6 separate regions of the Homo sapiens genome follow, and regions 2, 3, 4, 5 and 6 are each linked to region 1. Evidence: promoter capture Hi-C in 16 types of primary human blood cells and fetal thymus (Javierre and others, 2016). All regions are on one chromosome and are shown on one strand. Each heading gives the region's core, a stretch centred on a gene start or on the middle of the fragment in contact. The rest is flanking DNA. Distances are from core to core; before and after follow the strand shown. Region 1 overlaps TRAPPC13 (trafficking protein particle complex subunit 13). Region 2 holds the start of TAF9 (TATA-box binding protein associated factor 9). Region 3 holds the start of CDK7 (cyclin dependent kinase 7). Region 4 holds the start of CENPH (centromere protein H). Region 5 holds the start of CCNB1 (cyclin B1). Region 6 holds the start of KIF2A (kinesin family member 2A).

Region 1 (2,700 bases), core at 92-2,591:
AAACGCTAGTAGTCAACATGTTTAACTCAATAGATATAAAGGACTTGGAAGTATCGATATTAATATATTAAGTAATAATAGTCTTAAAACTTTAGCAGAAACAAAGAGTAAATGAATGATTCTTAAAATATTGTTTTCATATGAATTAACAAAAAATGTAATATTTAAAAATTTGAGGCAACTAAATTGAGGACAATGAAATCACTGTAAATTCTAATCCAACATGGTGAAAACCCATCTCTACTCAAAATACAAAAAAAAATTAGCTGGGTGTGGTGGCGCATGCCTGTAGTCCCAGCTACTAGGGAAGCTGAGGCAGGAGAATAGCTTGAACCTGGGAGCCAGAGGTTGCAGTGAGCCAAGATCATGCCACTCAGCCTGGGCGATAGAGCAAGACTTCATCTCATTAAAAAAAAAAAAAATTCTAATCTGTCTGGAAGAAAATTAATCATTTTATACTTAAAATTATGTAGATTTGCCAGGTGCGGTGGCTCATGCCTGTAATCCCAGAACTTTATGGGGGCCAAGGCGGGCAGATCACGAGGTCAGGAGCTTGAGACCAGCCTGGCCAACATGGTGAAACTCCGGCTCTACTAAAGATACAAAAAATAGCCGGCTGTGGTGGCGTGTGCCTGTAATCCCAGCTACTCAGGAGGCTGAGGGAGGAGAATCGCTTGAACCCGGGAGGTTGAGGTTTGCAGTGAACTGAGATCGCGCCATCGTACTCCCATTGCACTCCAGCCTGGGTGACAGGGCAAGACTCCGTCTCAAAAAAAAAAAAAAAATTATATGGATTCCACCAAACAAATATATAGATAGAATATTTGATGATTTCACGTCATTCTCTGTAGTAAAAACTAAAACCATTAATATGGTTTAACTTTGCTAATATGGTTTAACCAGGCTAAGAACCAGTTTTGTGACACTGTCTTCTCCTCATAATCCAGGCAATTAAACAGTATGGAGACCCCAATACCATGGCTTTTGAATTCCAGTTTGGAAGAGAACAAGAAGTCTAGACTCCTATTTTTTTCTCTTAGAGCACAGAAGTCCTCAAGTTGCCCCAAATTAAGTCACTGATAATAAATTCCAGCATATGGTGCATAGGCTCAAGAATGGAGCCTTCCAATATCTGCAAGTTAGGCTTGCTAATCAGGCCCAAAGCTGTAAGAGCCATAAAACAGACTTTTTCACATCCTAACAACAGCAGAAAAAAATAAGTTGAATCCCTTCTCCCCAAAAATCATTAGAGAATTACTTGATGAGGGTTCTCCCACTGCTAGGATAACCATGAGTATGGATTCTTGTCATCATTTCACAATAGAATCACTGTCTGATTCTGAAGAGTTAGAAGAAATAATTTCATTATTTTTACCTACTGATACTGCCCACTAACAGATCTGACAACTCTCAAATTCATAAATAATTGTGATCTTTAACATCCATATTTTAAATATGGATCTAAATGTTATCATATATACTTTCAAGAACTAATGATGCACTAATGTTTTTCTTCCCTGTTCCTTATACTTTCACATTGTAAAATATGGCACTGAGAAATTCTCTTGTTGTCTAAAGTCAATCAGTGTTATACTCAAGGGATGACTTTTTTTTTTTTTTTGAGACAGAGTCTTTGTTGCCCAGGTTAGAGTGCAGTGGCACAATCTCGGCTTACAGCAACCTTCGCCTCCCAGGGTCAAGTGATTCTTGTGCCTCAGCCTCCTGAGTAGCTGGGACCACTGGTGCACACCATCACGCCTGGCTAATTTTTGTATTTTCAGTAGAGACGGGGTTTCATAATGTTGGCTAGGCTGGTCTCGAACTCCTGATCTCAAGTGATCAGCCACCTCACCCAACCAAGAATAACAAGATATTATCTTTAACATTTTACATATTAAAAGATAAAGTGAACTTAAATGACCACTTAAATTAATACATTTGGCATTCAGCATCAGCACATTGAAATGTGTGAAAATTGTTGATTAACTAGAACAATGGGTTAACTATAAGATGGTACTAAAGAGGTTTAATAAAGTTGAAACTATCAGTCAATTTTGAAGCACTTGTCCGTTTAGGCTGCTTATTGTTCTTTTTTTTTTTTTTTTTTTTTTTTTTGAGACAGGGTCTCACTCTGTCACCCAGGCTGGAGTGCAGTGGCGCAATCTCAGCTCACTGCAGCCTCTGCCTCCCAGGTTCAAGCGGTTCTCCTGCCTCAGTCTCCCGAGTAGCTGGGATTACACCACCACACCTGGCTAATTTTTGTATTTTTGGTATAGACGGGTTTTCGCCATGTTGGCCAGGCTGGTGTCAACTCCTGATCTCAAGTGATCTGCCAGCCTCGGCCTCCCAAAGTGCTATTACAGGCGTGAGCCACCACGCCTGGCTTAGGCTGCTTAAATATTCTTTCTTAGGTATCCTTGGTTTTGGAAAAAAAAGAATAACAGAAAACTAAAAATTCCCAGTGGCAGTCTCTGTATCACTGGAATTTAACTTTTTGTTTGTTTGTTTTTTGAGATGGAGTCTCGCTCTGTTGCCTAGGATGGCGTGCAGTGGCGTGATCTCGGATCACTGCAAGCTCCGCCTCCCGGGTTCACGCCATTCTCCTGCCTCAGCCTCCTGAGTAACTGGGACTACAGGCGCCCGCCACCACGCCTGGCTAACTTTTTGTATTTTTATAGAGACGGGGTTTCACTATGTTAG
Region 2 (2,700 bases), core at 1-2,500, 3.7 Mb before region 1:
TGTTCAGCCCTCCGCCCCAAATCGTTCACGATTAGAGACTGTGACGTTTCAAAAGGTATACAGGTGGAAAAAAAACACCTATTTGAGTAAATATAGTTTGTAGCTCGAAATAAAAGATGCAGACCAGGGGCCGGACGCGGTGGCTCATGCCTGTAATCCCAGCACCGTGGGAGGACGAGGCGGGCGGATCATCTGAGGTCAGGAGTTTGAGACCAGCCTGGCCAAAACATGGTGAAACCCCGTCTCTATTAAAAATGCAAAAATTAGCCGGGCGTGGTGGTGGGCGCCTGTAATCCCAGCTACTCTGGAGGCTAAGGCAGGAGAATCACTTGAACCCAGGAGGCGGAGGTTGCACTCCAGCCTGGGCGACAAGAGTGAGACTCCGTCTCAAAACAAAACAAAAACAAACAAACAAACAAAAAAAGGTGCAGACTGTTGTCACGGTCAGGTCTCTATTCACTCTTGAAAACAAGATTGACAATTACCTCCTTTAAAAAGCAGATAACTGTCCCTGAAGATGCGAGGTTACTGAAATGAGATGTCAGAGGTAGACCTTCAAGACTATTCCTAGCCGACCCACCACCACCCCACACAGTGAACAGGGAATACTAAGCTCAAATATTCGTCCAACGTAATCCTGTAATCAGTGGGGTGCCGGGTTGAGCTCGCAAATCCCCGCTGCAGGACAGGGCTCTGCACCCTCAATCTTCTCATCCCCAGATGGGATGGGCGGGTCGGGAGGAGGAGCGACGAGAGCCCAGGAAAGCTTGAAGGCAGAGATAGACTCACGTCTCTAAGACATATACATAATATAGCCGCAACCGCGGCGGCCTTACTTTCCCGGAGCTGCATCCCCTTTTAGGCGAAGAGCGGAGGCGACCAGGGACTACCCTAGGTGAAAGGGCAGCCACCTGGCCCTACCCGGGCTCAACGCCGAGCCTCTCGGAGGTACGGCCTCCCGGGGACCTTCCAGACTGGTCGGCGCAAGCGAAGGGCGGGGACCACCGAAGGAGTGTGTGACTTAGGCATCCAGCGCACTGCCTGACCCGAAGTACCGACCCGAGTTATGCCCACCCTCCAACTTTGCGACGGAAATGTGTCATCGAAAGCCAGGTAACCAGTGGGCCGCGGCTGGGCCGCCGGGGCAGGCTAGGGGCGCCGCGGTGGGCTTCGGGGCCTTTGGGGCCGTGGGCTTTTGCTGCCGCCCGCCCCTTCCGGCTCCTCCCTGTAGAGCAAAGGGCACGTGAGCGAGGCGCCCGAAGCCGTCGCGGCGGGGACCATGTTGCTTCCGAACATCCTGCTCACCGGTCAGGGCGCGCGGCCGGGAGGGACTGGGCTGGGGCAGGCTGGGGGCGCAGAGTGCTCTGGGCATCGGGCGCCCAGGTGGGGGCCCCTCACTGCCCTCTTCAGAGGCCGGCCGAGGGCCACGAGGCGGTTGTCAGCGCCCCGGGAGCCGACCCTCGCGGGCGTTGCGGGAGGCGAGGGAGGGGACGCGGAACGTTAATTCCGTTGGCCTGAGGCTCCGGGGGGGGGCGGGGGGGGGTGGAGAGAGGTCGGCAGATCCAGCTCTCCAGCTTGGCAACCTGCTTAGTCTTTCTGAATCTGGTATTTCGTTTGTAAAATGGGTTGTTGATTCTTTGGCAGGGTTGGCCTTGGGATTTTTAGCGAAATAACGTAAGGCCATATCTGCTTCCCGGTAGAGTCATTAATGGTGGATGCCTCACTCCTTAGGCCTCCGTGGGCCGTATTTTATTTTTTCTTTGCTTCTGATAAACGCCTCAGATTAGATTTCGGTAAACGAGTTCAGATGTTTGTGACGTGACGAAATTGCTGTATGCTTTTGTTGAGTTACATCAAAGGATCCCCCCGCCCCTTAAAAGGAAGGCATATAGAGCATTTCGGGTCGTTTCTCGCGTAGGAGTGGGTCTTTGAAGCCATACTCAGGGTGCATGTTATCAGTGAAGGGAATTAAAATGCTGCATAACGACTTTAACGAATATTTTTGCTAGCCGTTTAGTCCTGAAAGTGTTTATCAAATTGTAGGCCATTCGTGGAAAAATCTAATGCATGTAGATTTTATTGCAAGGTACAGAAAAATTAAGACTCTTTGTGGGAACAGTAAAGTTACATCATTCACCCAAAGGTAAAATTGTTGGCAGCGCACAAGACATGTCTGTTTCTGAGAGGTGCAGATTAACCACCCCACAAATAACGTTTAGAATTTTAGATTCCTTAAGCGGAAGATTTTACATCTTTTTGCATGGATCAAACATAGTGCCCTGGTTATTAAGTCATTGTCAAAACTTTAAAGTGAACATTTTATTGAAAACATGTTGAGTCCAGGGTTCAGACTTGGTGTATTATAGTGGACTTGAGGTGACCGTTATTCTCCTGGGTATGGGAACTGGATTATCCCTGTTATCTTTATGCTTAAGTTTAATTTCAGGGATGTTAAATCTGAATAGCTGAAAATTATGAATTTGATGATCTTGAAATGTAATTTTAATAGGTATCAGAAGGGGAAGGTAAAGAACAATGTATATAGTATTGTCATTTATGTAAAAGGGAATATGTGTTGTATTTATATAACAAAGAGTATGTACATATATGTACATTTACATGCAAACATAAATAGGGTTTCTTTGGGAAAGGAAACTGGTTTACAGTGGTTATCTCTAGGGAAGGGCGCAAGGGGTCAGT
Region 3 (2,700 bases), core at 57-2,556, 3.6 Mb before region 1:
TCGGCTCATTACAACCTCCACCTCCCAGGTTCAAGTGATTCTCCTGCCTCAGCCTCCCGAGTAGCTGGGATTACAGACAGGTGCCACCACACCCAGCTAATATTTGTATTTTTAGTAGAGACAGGGTTTCACCATGTTGGCCAGGATGGTCTGGATCTCTTGACCCCAAGTGATCCGCCCACCTCGGCCTCCCAAAGTGCTGGGATTACAGGCGTGAGCCACCGCGGCTGGCCCGACCCAAGTCTTTTGAATGAATATAAGAAGCTACTGAATCCGACCCAGGTCTTTTGAATGAATATAAGAAGCTACTGAACTCATTTTAGACCTCACATCAATGTTGTTCATGCTAGTGAAAGTCTTTCATGGTAAATCCGTACACAGAAAATACAGATACGACACACTGAGTGGATGCAGGTGAGGTATAAACAGTGACCTAGAAAGATCATGGTATCCAATAGTTCTGAGGACCGAAAAGATGGGCAGTACTTGCCCACAACATATGAATTTATGCAGTAAAAATAACATACAGCTTCTTCTTCATTTCAATAGAAATTAAAACGGGTTCAACCCTAGAGTTCCGTTTGGGAACACAAAGCACTAATTAATTATTTTGTCTCTGAAAATGACATGAGTAACTCATTATCAGAGTATGGTCAAGACTAATAAAATGGCTATCAGTCAATTAATAATACAGACATCTTCAAGGAGACTTAAAAACAACATAAAAAGGTAACTCACTTTCTTAATGGCGACAATTTGGTTGGTGTTCTTATCTCTGGCCTTGTAAACGGTGGCAAACTAGAAAGAAAAATAGAAATAACATAAGTTTATGGGAGTTTTTGTGTTTGCCTTTTTGCATTTTTACATTTCGCGAAGCAAAGAGCCCAGAGTTCCTGAGCAGACTCGCGGCGGCTGGAAACGTGGCGGGTCAGTCTCCGTCCAGCTCCAGGCTACTCTTCAGCAAGGAGAGGCCCCTCAGGGATTCACCCCCAGGATGTAAAGAATGGGCAGCAAGTGCGTCTGGACGGTTTCCCCCAACGAGAACGAGCAGCCAAGCCAGACCTCTGGCCTCCACGGGAAAACCCGCAAAGGTGGAGGCGGCGCGGGGCTGTCCGCTTGGGGCCCTCCCCGTCCTTCCAGAGAGCCTCACCTGTCCCTCCCCAAGGAAGTCCAGCTTCTCATAACGCTTTGCCCGAGACTTCACGTCCAGAGCCATCCGGCGCCGTAAAGCCCGACTCCAGCCGAAAAGGGCGAGCTCCCAGGACAACACGAATTTAAAGCTACCTTAAAGCCTCCAACACCCACTTCCGTCCACCGGGCTCCGTCGCTTTAGTATCCCCGCCTCACTTCCGTGGTGGGCGGAGGAAGCTGCGCTAGGCCCAGGCGGTTGGCGTTCCCCACCCGTCACGTGACGCCTGTCGGTGCCTGAAGTGGGGCATCTTCAATGGCTGCTGTGTCACTCTGTTGCCGTTTTAACTTGGGTGTTTTCTACATTACCAGGAACTGGTCAGCGTTCTAATTTGGTGTTCCATGTTCGGGGTTTGGTAGGTGTCTGTGAATGTAGAAAGTTTGGCCTTGTACCTGTTCTCGCTTTTTGGTTCTTGCTCGAGCGCGTCCTGTCGCCGTGGTTGCTATGGACGCCAAACCCTGCTATCTCAGATTACTGAGACGAGTGCCAAGTTCTTACGGGCTGGTCAAGAGTATTCTTAGTCCAGTCCCTTTATGAAGAAGCAGGCCCAGGAAAACAAAATCCAACTCAACTGAAACGTGCTGTGGGAATCAGCTTCTAGTCCTCAGTTTTCTACTCGGTAAAATGGAAAAAATAATGAACTACATCACAGGAGATTGTGGGTATTAAATGAAACATGCAGAAAGCTTAGACATTAACTCAATTAATTGAGACAGTGCTCAATTAACTTAGCAGTAATGAGTACCCAACCCCTTGATTATCATAAATTGTCATAACAAACACACTAATTCATTTATTCAAAAACATATTGAGTGCTTTTCCTTTTTCATTTTTCTCTCTCTTAGGATGCTGATATTGAGTGTTATCTATGTGCCAAGCACCATTGTAGAATCTGAGATAGCAGGGAGCAAAGATCCCTGCCTTCCAATGGGAGGAGATAAAAAAACAAGTCAAATATGTGTTATGATACATAGGTGATAAGTGCTATAGAGATAATAAAGCAGATAAAGGATAACAAATCAGGGCAGGGGCAGGGATGGAGGTTTTAAATAGGGTGGTACAAGAAAGTCATCACTGAAAACCCACTGGAGGGATTGGAGCAGACAAGTGATATGACCTGACTCACTTTTAAAAGGTTCACTCTTGCTGTTGGGAGACTATATTATAGATTTTGAGGGACAAGAAAAAGAAAGAAGGCCTATTAGAGAACTATTGCAGTAATCCAGATGGCTCTACTAGTGGATAATTAAAAGTTTCTGAGCCAGAGCAGCTGTCAACATGGAAATGTGCCCCCCTCCCCCTGCCTTTGTTTGTTTGTTTGTTTTTGAGACAGTCTCACTCTGTTGCTCAGGCTGGAGTACGCTGGCCCGATCTGAGCTCACTGCAACCTCTGCCTCCTGGGTTCAAGCGATTCTCCTGCCTCAGCTTCCCGATTAGCTGGGATTACTGGCCTGCTCCACCACACCCAGCTAATTTTTGTATTTTTAGTAGAGACGGGGTTTCACCTTGTT
Region 4 (2,700 bases), core at 139-2,638, 3.6 Mb before region 1:
CAATAAAAAAGAAATAGACATCTTTTCATTTTTCAAAACATTTAAGAAAGAAAAAAATGGTAATTAATTTTTTTTTTTTGAGTCAAGAGTCTTGCTCTATTGCCCAGGCTGGAGTGCAATGGCACAATCTTCTGCTCACTGCAACCTCTGCCTCCCGGGTTCAATCAATTCTCTTGCCTCAGCCTCCTGAGTAGCTGGGATTACAGGCGCCCGCCACCACGCCCAGCTAATTTTTGTATTTTTAGTAGAGACGGGGTTTCACCATGTTGGCCATGGTTGGCCAGGCTGGTCTTGAACTCCTGACTTAAGGTGATCCGTCTGCCTCGGCATCCCAAAGTGTTGGGATTACAGGCGTGAGCCACCGCGCTCAGCCAATAATGATTTTTTTAAAACTACCTCTGTTATGATATAGAACAGAGGACCGCAAATTTTTTTCTGTAAAGGACCTGATAGTAAATTTTTTAGGGTTTGTGAGTCACACGGTCTCTGTTTTAGCTACTCAATTCCACCCTTGTGGCAGGAAAGTTGTACTCCAATAAAACTGTTTATGGAAACTGAAACTTGAATTTCTAATAGAGTTCACGTGTTATGAAATATTTTTATGATCTTTTCCCTGCAACACTTAAACATAAAAACTATTCTTAGCTTGAGTGGTCACACAAAAATAGGCAGTTAGGCAGATTTGGCCCAGGACCTTCTCCTGCTCACTAGTTTAGAAGACGAATGTCCCTTCTCATCGAATCTTCCCCAGCAACCGCTTAGTGGAAAAGTATAAACACCGTCCGCTTAGTAGAATTTATAACATATAAAGCTTCTGGGTTACAAAGGGTCGTAGTTCTAAAAGAAATGGTAGGGGCACCTTCCTTCCAGTTTAGCTCTGGCATTCAATTTGTCTGTAAACCAGAGAGGTAGGGGGAGGGCGGGGAAACAGGAGGAGAAATTACAGCTTCTAAGGGCCCGGGGCACTGTGCTCAACACTTTCCTAGACTATCTCATTTAACCCTTGTAACCTCTCTCCAGGGGGTCATTTTTCTCTCCTTTTCGCTGATGAAGAAAGAGCTTCAACAGTTTAAGTGAATGAGGCAATCACGGAGACCTGACGTGACCGAGCGTGAATTCGAACCCTAGCCCTTCTGAGCAAGGGCGGAGTTCCGGGCCACAACGCCCACTTGGCCCCGGCTGAGGAGGCCAAAGGGAACAACCTGAGGAGCAGGGTCATGCGGTCCTCGCTGCACGCCGCCTGGGCGCCGGCGACCTGCGGTGGCCCGCCTGCCCGGCCTTCCCCTCCGGAGTCCGCGGGCTCGTCGGCGTCTTGCATCTGGGGCTGCTCCTCCATTGCTGGTTGAGGGGAAAGGCTACCACTCAACAGGCAAACGCGCTCAGAAAAGGTCGCTTTTCCCGCCACTAAATGGACGCCGGGAAAAGGCCCGAGGGCCCCGCCCCTTCCGCCCAGGGCCCCACCCTTTCCGCCTTGTTTTTCGGTTGCCGTGGTTACTACGGGCTCCTCTTTCATCCGGGCTCTACTGGTGAAAATAACTGCAGACGGCTGGTAAAAAGTTGGAATAGCTTTCGTTAAGCGTCGGATGTGTAGAGTGCTGAGTTAGGGGCTGGACTAGAGACGTTGGGACATCTCCCGGGAACAGCAGCCTGGAGGGGAAAAATCTCCTGACCTAAGTGGTCATTCGGCCTTGGCGCTTGGACACGGGAGTGCGGCGACAGCCATATGTCCATCCATCTTGGCACTTTTCCGTCCTCTGCCTTTGAAGATGGGTGTGCCCGGCAGGCTGTGAAAGATAAACATTAGAGGGTTGTTTAGAAGACTTTTTTGACCTGAGCCCATGAGGTGCATACCCTTTGTTTGGCGGAGAAACCAGTGGCTTCTGAAGATCAGGGACGGGCCACAAGTGCGAGGCATTGCAGACATTTCGAACCCAGACTTCCAGCCTGGAGACATCCACACGCTTCCAGTTTCTTGCACTGGTACTTCATTCTGTCATTATGATTGCCACCACTCGTAACTGAGAGTTGCGTGCCCTCAAGTTTTGAGTGTCTGCAGGGTACCTTTGAGCTTTCTTAGCTGTGTAGTGAGTGGGGGGAATGGAGAAAATGAAGGACAGATGACTGATTTGTAGTTTTTCATTTGGACACTGTCCTTGCCGCACAAGCACAGCAGCTTGAACCTCTTTGAACAAGAGTCGAGAGTTCTTTTACAGCTAATTACCCACTAGTTAAACTTGATCATACTGTGCTGTTTTCTTCCTCTCCATTGTCAATGTAATACGGCTCCTGACAAAAGTTAAATTCGCTGGGCGTGGTGGCTCACCCCTGTACTCCCAGCACTTTGGGGGCTGAGGCGGGTGGATCACCTGAAGTCAGGAATTCAAGACCAGCCTGGCCAACATGGTGAAACCCCGTCTCTACTAAAAATACAAAAGTTAGCTGCGTGTGGTGGCGGGCGCCTGTAATCCCAGCTACTCAGGAGGCTGAGGCAGGAGAATCGTTTGAACCCGGGGGGGCGGAGGTTGCAGTGAGCTGAGATCGCGCCACTGCACTTCAGCCTGGGTGACAGAGTGAAACTCCGTCTCAAAAAAAAAAAAAAAAGCCGGGCGCTGTGGCTCACACCTATAATCCCAGCACTTTGGGAAGCCGAGGGGGGAGGATCTCGAGGTCAGGAGTTGGAGACCAGCCTGACCAACATGG
Region 5 (2,700 bases), core at 93-2,592, 3.5 Mb before region 1:
ATGTAAAATGTTAGGCAGAGCTTGCCTCATGCTAAGCACTCAATAAATGGTATTAATATTACTATTCATTTGAATGCTCTTGCATGTATCAGTGAAATAAGGGACAAGAAATAATCAACAGACTCTACAATGGTAAGAATAAGTTTACCAAAATAGGCTCAGGCGAAAGTTTTTCTTCTTTAACAGGCTCAGGTTCTGGCTCAGGTTCTGGCTCTGGCACTGGCTCAGACACTGGCACTGGCACCAGCATAGGTACCTTTTCAAGAGGTTTTGGTAGTTTTTTATCAATGACTTTTCCAGTAGCTGAAGGTTTTGCTTCCTGTAGATGAAACAGAGAGAATGAAATGTTTCTGCATCAAAGGCCACAGTTGGAAGGCGGGCTCTTACAGAAGTTAGGTCAGGAAGAGAGTTACCTTCTTCATAGGCATTTTGGCCTGCAGTTGTTCACTGACTTTGTTACCAATGTCCCCAAGAGCTGTTCTTGGCCTCAGTCCGGGCTTGGAGGTTGCAGCAGGGGCCGTAGGAACGCGCTTTGCGCCTGCCATGTTGATCTTCGCCTTATTTTCAGCATTAATTTTCGAGTTCTGAAAGAAGCAAGACCACTTTAAGAGCTGATCCACGAAGGCTCGAGTAAGTCAAGGGTTAATTAAGGTGGGGCACAAGGAGAAGTTCCCAGAAAGAAAGCCGACTAAAAATGGGTTCCGAGGGAAAACATGGGTCCCAGAGTCTACTCTGCGGCCGTGACAAGTCAGTTTCCGCCGACCTCTACATTTACCAATTGAGGGATTCCCTGATTAGTCCTGGCCAGCCCTAAAATACCGAGAATTTACATTTGAAAGGAAACCGAAAAAGCCTCCAATTGCAGACACCTTCTCTCTGGGAAGGGGGTTACAGAGTTGCTGGCGGGCCCACTCAGGGACCCTCTATCACTTTTTCAAAAGGTTCCCAGTCGACTCTCCACCTCCCCAAAACATTTATCCAATATCCGTCCAGTTCTCTTTCTCACCTTCCTCCCTCCATCCATCGTCCCCCACACTCTCTCACCAGGCCTGGGCCCACCTCGGCGCTCTCTTGGTGAGTCCCCTCCCACCTTCCTCCCCAAATCGCTCCTGCGGCCCTCTCCCGCTCGGGAGGCTCCCGCAGGCGAGGCAGGGAGAGCAGGCAGCAGCTAAGAAGGCCGCGTTAGTTCGCAGTCCGAAGCGGCTCACCCTGGTGACTCGGAGCGCCATGGCTTCCTCTTCACCAGGCAGCAGCTCAGCGGGGAGAAGCAGAACACCGGAGGCCCGACCAGCCAAGGACCTACACCCAGCAGAAACCAACAGCCGTTCCGCCGCAGCACGCCGAGAAGAGCCAGCCTAGCCTCAGATTTAAACCCCGCACTGCTCCCTCCTTATTGGCCTGTTCGTGGCACTCACTCCCTTCCCATTGGCGGCTGCCGGTCGCAGAGAATGCGTTTCCAGGGCGATCGCGCGAAGGCGTTCGAGAGGGGCGGGGCCACAGTGAGGCTAGGCCGGAAGGCCTGGCCAGGCTCTCACGTGGTCTGCCTCTGCGCCTGCGCTCTCGGGCAGCTGCAGCGGCCACCTGGAGAGCAGTGAAGCCAGTGCGCCGCCCACCTGGAAAGGTTAGCCGGGCAAGAGTGTGCGTTGCCAATGCCAGCTCAGGAAAGGCCTAGTGGCCTTTGGAAGGTGACAGAGGCGCGGCCACAGTCTCAGAAGTGTCAAAAGTAGTTTTGGATCTAGTGTTGCACACTTTCCATTTCTACGGTAGCAGCAATAATATAGTTCATGAAAGGCTTTAATAGACATTCTTTCATTTGATCGTTGCAACAACTCTCTGGGTTGGAGGAACTGAAGCTCAGCGACTTAGATGACTTTGCCAGGGTCACACATTAGCAACGGGGGAACTGAATTTAGGGTTTTTTTTTTTGAGGGGGAGGGAGGGGGTGTATCCGTGTTGTTTTCACAACACTGATTGTCCCTTAACAATATTACTTGATTACTTCAAGATTGTCCAGTTTCCCAAGGCCAATTGTTTTGTTTGTTTTAGCTTTCTATTTGGAAATAATTTCATACTTAGACCAGTTGCCAACAAAAATCTTGTAAGGAATATTTCTATGCCCTTTACTCAGATTCAACTATCCTTAACATGTATTTGCCTCTCATGGGAAAATCAGGAAAAACTAAACAAAAAGACATTTTACCCCATTTGCTTTGTCATTTGCTCAGATTCTCTCTAGATCCAAAGAAAAACAAGAGGGTTCTTTTTGCCTTCTACTCCTCAAAACACACCAGCAGCTCAGCAATTGGAGGGGAGGCTGAAGGACAAAAACATTGCTATCCCATAGAGCAACGGTATAAGAGCCAATAGAGACTCCTGGCGCTGGAAGTCACGGATCCGAAAGAAGGCGCCCAATCATTTGGTTTCTTTGGATCGTTATTGAGTCTTCTGTCATCATAGTTCACCCTCCTACTCGAATGCCTCCCGTGGGGCCCTTACCCTTGCTCTCCTCTGCCTGGAATGCCCGCCTCTTCTTGCATTCAAGCCCCTGGGTTCTATTCAGGTAACTCCCATTCATCCTTCAGTTCTGTGTTCAACATCCATTCTCACTCAGTCTTTCTGGGTTTGATCAATCCTTCCTCGCCCCATGCAGGGGCGAGAGGCAAGGGGCGAAGCAGGATTACTTATCCTCTGTGTTCCAGT
Region 6 (2,700 bases), core at 76-2,575, 3.3 Mb after region 1:
ACTTATCTCCCTCCGTGCATTTATTCCTTTACAATATGAATTATTTCCAGTCTGGCTGGCGTATCTCACTCCACACCCCAAGCTAGTGTCATAAACCATTTTCCCCAAGAGAAACCTAGAGAAAGATACATAAGCCTAAGGCTCTTAAAAAAAAAAATGAAGCATGTGTCTTCACCTCGCCTTACACTTTTCTCAGTTACCTCTCCCGAGGGTGTGAAAATATCAACATCCGGTCGCCCACCCCCACTCTCTCAGCAGTGCCTCGCATTGACTCTGCCCATCCCCTATCATTCCCTTTACAGTCTCATCACCTTGGAGAAGCCCATCGAATATTTCTTCCCATTGCTCCCCCACCCTTATTCATGGCTCAGCGCGATATTCTCCACATTTTTCTCCCAAGAAGTGGCAAAAAAGAAAGCAGCATGGTCGACGACGAAACCGGGGAGGCCTGACAACCAGACGGCAGTTTAAGGCGACGGAACTGGCTCTTTCCCCCCATCTCGGCCTCCGACCAGCAGTCGGTTCTCTAAATGTGAAATCGCTGGTCTTCCCGCTCCCCCACCCCCATCCCCATCCCCGTCAGAGGCCAAGCCGGTAAAATGCAAAGACCAAGGGGAAGCGCGAGGCAGGGTCATCCCTAACGAAGCCCGCTCCCTCCCGGGCTGGTGTCCCCGGGGGGGGGCTGGAGATTGCGGGAGGAGGAGCGAGCGGCCCTCGCCCAGAGACCCCCGGAGACGCGACCCTCGACACCCGGGCCCTTTCCCCACCCGGCTTCCCTCCCCCGCGGCCCGATCCGGAGAACTGCAGCAGCGCCCGGGCGGACCCCAAGCCGGCCTCACTGGCACACACGCCACACACAAAAGCGCCGCGGCCGCCGCCTTCCCACCCCCACAGCCCGGCGAAGCAATCAATGAGGCGGCCGGCGCCCGCGTCCCCTCCGTGCACACCCGAACACGGGGCCGAGCGGGCCAGCGGGGCTGGCAGCGCGGCTCACCATCGCTGCGCTTGATCTCCACGTAAATCCCGATCTGGATCTTGCCGAAGTTGGCCGTTGCCATCACCTCATCTGGAGCAGCAGCAGCGGGCCGAGGGAGGGGGACCGGAGGGCGGAAAAGGCGGGGAGGGGGCGGGGTAGGTGTGGGAGGGGGAGCGGTTGCCCGCGGCCGCGCCGGCCCGGGCGACAGCGTGAACGCAAGCGGGGCCGCAAGGAGCAGCTGTGGGGAAGCAGGCGGAGGCCCCGGGCCTGCAGGCCGGCAGGAGGACGCGCACGCCGGGTAGTCGGGGTGAAGCTAGGGCCGGGGCCGTGAGACGGCGCGGGGTAGAGTGGGAGGGCCCGCACCGCCCGCCGGGGAGCCGACGCTGGGGAGGCGGGGCGCCGCGCGCCTGCGCAGAGCGCGCCTCCGGCGTCTCTTCTTCCTTTTCGGCTGGCCTCTCCCCGCTGCCTCCAGGCGGCCCCGCCCAGCTCTGCAGCGGGGTGGGCGGCGGCCGCGGCTTACCCAGCCGCTGGAGCGTTGAGCGCTCGGCCCGGCCCACAGCTAGCCGGCGTCGCGTTTGATTTCAGCGCGCGGCCTAGAAGACGCGGGAAGCGTCGCGCCGAGCTTTCTTGCCCTCTCGCTTCCGGGAATTGGCGCTGTTGCCGGAATGGGTTAAAGGCCACGTGGTTTCAGGGGCTTTCTAGCGGGCTGAGGGATGTGAATTCAAGGGCCCTCCGTTGACAGTACGGGATCCGGGTTTTCATCGGAAGGTGGCACCCCCTATTTCCACTTACAGGTAGCTGACCCAAGCAGCCCTCCCAAGCACACTTGGTGTAGGTTTCCCATCCAGTTACGCTGGAAGGGAAGAAACACCCTTGAGGTGTCACCTACCCTAAATCGAAATGAAGATCCACCCCTTTACAGTCTTGCCTTATAGTTTATCACACTCAGAAAGAAGCTCTGTGGTGGGGCGTCCTTAACTGTTCAGGTTATGAGGCATCCGATGCTGGTGCCCTGTTTCTGCTGAGGGTTCAAGACTTACTTGCCTTGGCCTGTAAAGCCAACAACTGTGACTCAAGGGAAGAAGGCAGACACATAAGGTTGACTAGGGAATGTGTCTTTTTGCAATAATTTAATTAGTCTGACCACATCAGCAATGTGGAAAGCAAGACTCTCCATCCTGGCAGAGCAGGAAGGCCACGTGTACCGGGGCCCTGGAAACTGTATTTATAGCACCGTGTGAAAACCTCCAAACGTCTAACTCCTGCTTGTAGTACTGGCAATTGATAGGTTGGAAACAACACTTTTCATGGCCTACTTTCCCTAGTCATTGTTTTTTGTTGTTGTTGTTTTGTTTTGTTTGTTTTTGAGGGGGAGTCTTGCTCTGTCGCTCAGGCTGGAGTGCAGTGGCGCGATCTCCGCTCACTGCAATCTCTGCCTCCTGTGTTCAAGCGATTCTCACGCCTCAGCCTTCCGAGTAGGTGGGATTACAGGCCCGCGCCACCACGCCTGGCTAATTTTTGTATTTTTAGTAGAGACGGGGTTTCACCATGTTGGCCAGGCTGGTCTCAAACTCCTGACCTCAGGTAATCCACCCGCCTCCACCACCCAGAGTGCTGAGATTACAGGCATGAGCCACTGCGCCCGGCCTTCCCTAGTCATTGATAATCTCCCTGTAACAATAACTACAAATATACAATTTAAAATTTTAAAATTGGAAACTGGA

Evidence for each region. Contacts are between HindIII fragments. The CHiCAGO score rates a contact against its expected background, and 5 or more counts as called.
Region 2: a contact is called between the fragment with the promoter of TAF9 here and a fragment that was not itself captured in region 1, in 4 of 17 cell types (non-activated CD4 T cells, total B cells, neutrophils and 1 more). The highest score is 10.7, in non-activated CD4 T cells.
Region 3: a contact is called between the fragment with the promoter of CDK7 here and a fragment that was not itself captured in region 1, in 1 of 17 cell types (monocytes). The highest score is 5.0, in monocytes.
Region 4: a contact is called between the fragment with the promoter of CENPH here and a fragment that was not itself captured in region 1, in 5 of 17 cell types (total B cells, activated CD4 T cells, monocytes and 2 more). The highest score is 11.3, in total B cells.
Region 5: a contact is called between the fragment with the promoter of CCNB1 here and a fragment that was not itself captured in region 1, in 2 of 17 cell types (non-activated CD4 T cells and activated CD4 T cells). The highest score is 5.7, in non-activated CD4 T cells.
Region 6: the fragment with the promoter of KIF2A here is called in contact with a fragment that was not itself captured in region 1 in 1 of 17 cell types (naive CD8 T cells); the score reaches 6.6 in naive CD8 T cells.

The regions. Positions count from the first base shown.
Region 1 is chr5:65,626,547-65,629,246 of GRCh38, reverse strand. All of the region lies in intron 1 of TRAPPC13 (trafficking protein particle complex subunit 13), which reads right to left. All of the region lies in intron 1 of SHLD3 (shieldin complex subunit 3), which reads right to left. Among named protein-coding and RNA genes, the nearest start is that of TRAPPC13, 2.9 kb to the right of the region's middle. The HindIII fragment of the contact is 3,647 bases long and covers 1-2,700 here.
Region 2 is chr5:69,368,070-69,370,769 of GRCh38, reverse strand. TAF9 (TATA-box binding protein associated factor 9) reads left to right here and starts at 1,250. Exons shown (of 3, transcript NM_003187.5): 1 at 1,250-1,307. AK6 (adenylate kinase 6) reads left to right here and starts at 1,250. Exons shown (of 5, transcript NM_016283.5): 1 at 1,250-1,307. The coding sequence starts at 1,280. RAD17 (RAD17 checkpoint clamp loader component) reads right to left here and starts at 952. Exons shown (of 19, transcript NM_133338.3): 1 at 837-952. RefSeq lists an enhancer at 149-698. The HindIII fragment of the contact is 4,867 bases long and covers 769-2,700 here.
Region 3 is chr5:69,233,492-69,236,191 of GRCh38, reverse strand. It overlaps CDK7 (cyclin dependent kinase 7), which reads right to left and starts at 1,306. Exons shown (of 12, transcript NM_001799.4): 1 at 1,151-1,306; 2 at 739-798. The coding sequence starts at 1,216. RefSeq lists an enhancer at 1,056-1,584. The HindIII fragment of the contact is 18,686 bases long and covers 1-1,877 here.
Region 4 is chr5:69,188,271-69,190,970 of GRCh38, reverse strand. It overlaps CENPH (centromere protein H), which reads right to left and starts at 1,388. Exons shown (of 9, transcript NM_022909.4): 1 at 1,203-1,388. The coding sequence starts at 1,336. It overlaps LOC112267932 (a long non-coding RNA gene), which reads left to right and starts at 1,494. Exons shown (of 2, transcript XR_002956215.2): 1 at 1,494-1,980. RefSeq lists a silencer at 1,337-1,456 and enhancers at 1,315-1,609, 1,537-1,776. The HindIII fragment of the contact is 12,435 bases long and covers 814-2,700 here.
Region 5 is chr5:69,165,792-69,168,491 of GRCh38, reverse strand. CCNB1 (cyclin B1) reads right to left here and starts at 1,342. Exons shown (of 9, transcript NM_031966.4): 1 at 1,209-1,342; 2 at 414-584; 3 at 149-319. The coding sequence starts at 1,229. RefSeq lists enhancers at 1,087-1,316, 697-1,662. The HindIII fragment of the contact is 10,262 bases long and covers 1-2,700 here.
Region 6 is chr5:62,304,831-62,307,530 of GRCh38, reverse strand. KIF2A (kinesin family member 2A) reads right to left here and starts at 1,325. Exons shown (of 21, transcript NM_001098511.3): 1 at 995-1,325. The coding sequence starts at 1,058. RefSeq lists a silencer at 592-1,621. The HindIII fragment of the contact is 9,341 bases long and covers 1-2,700 here.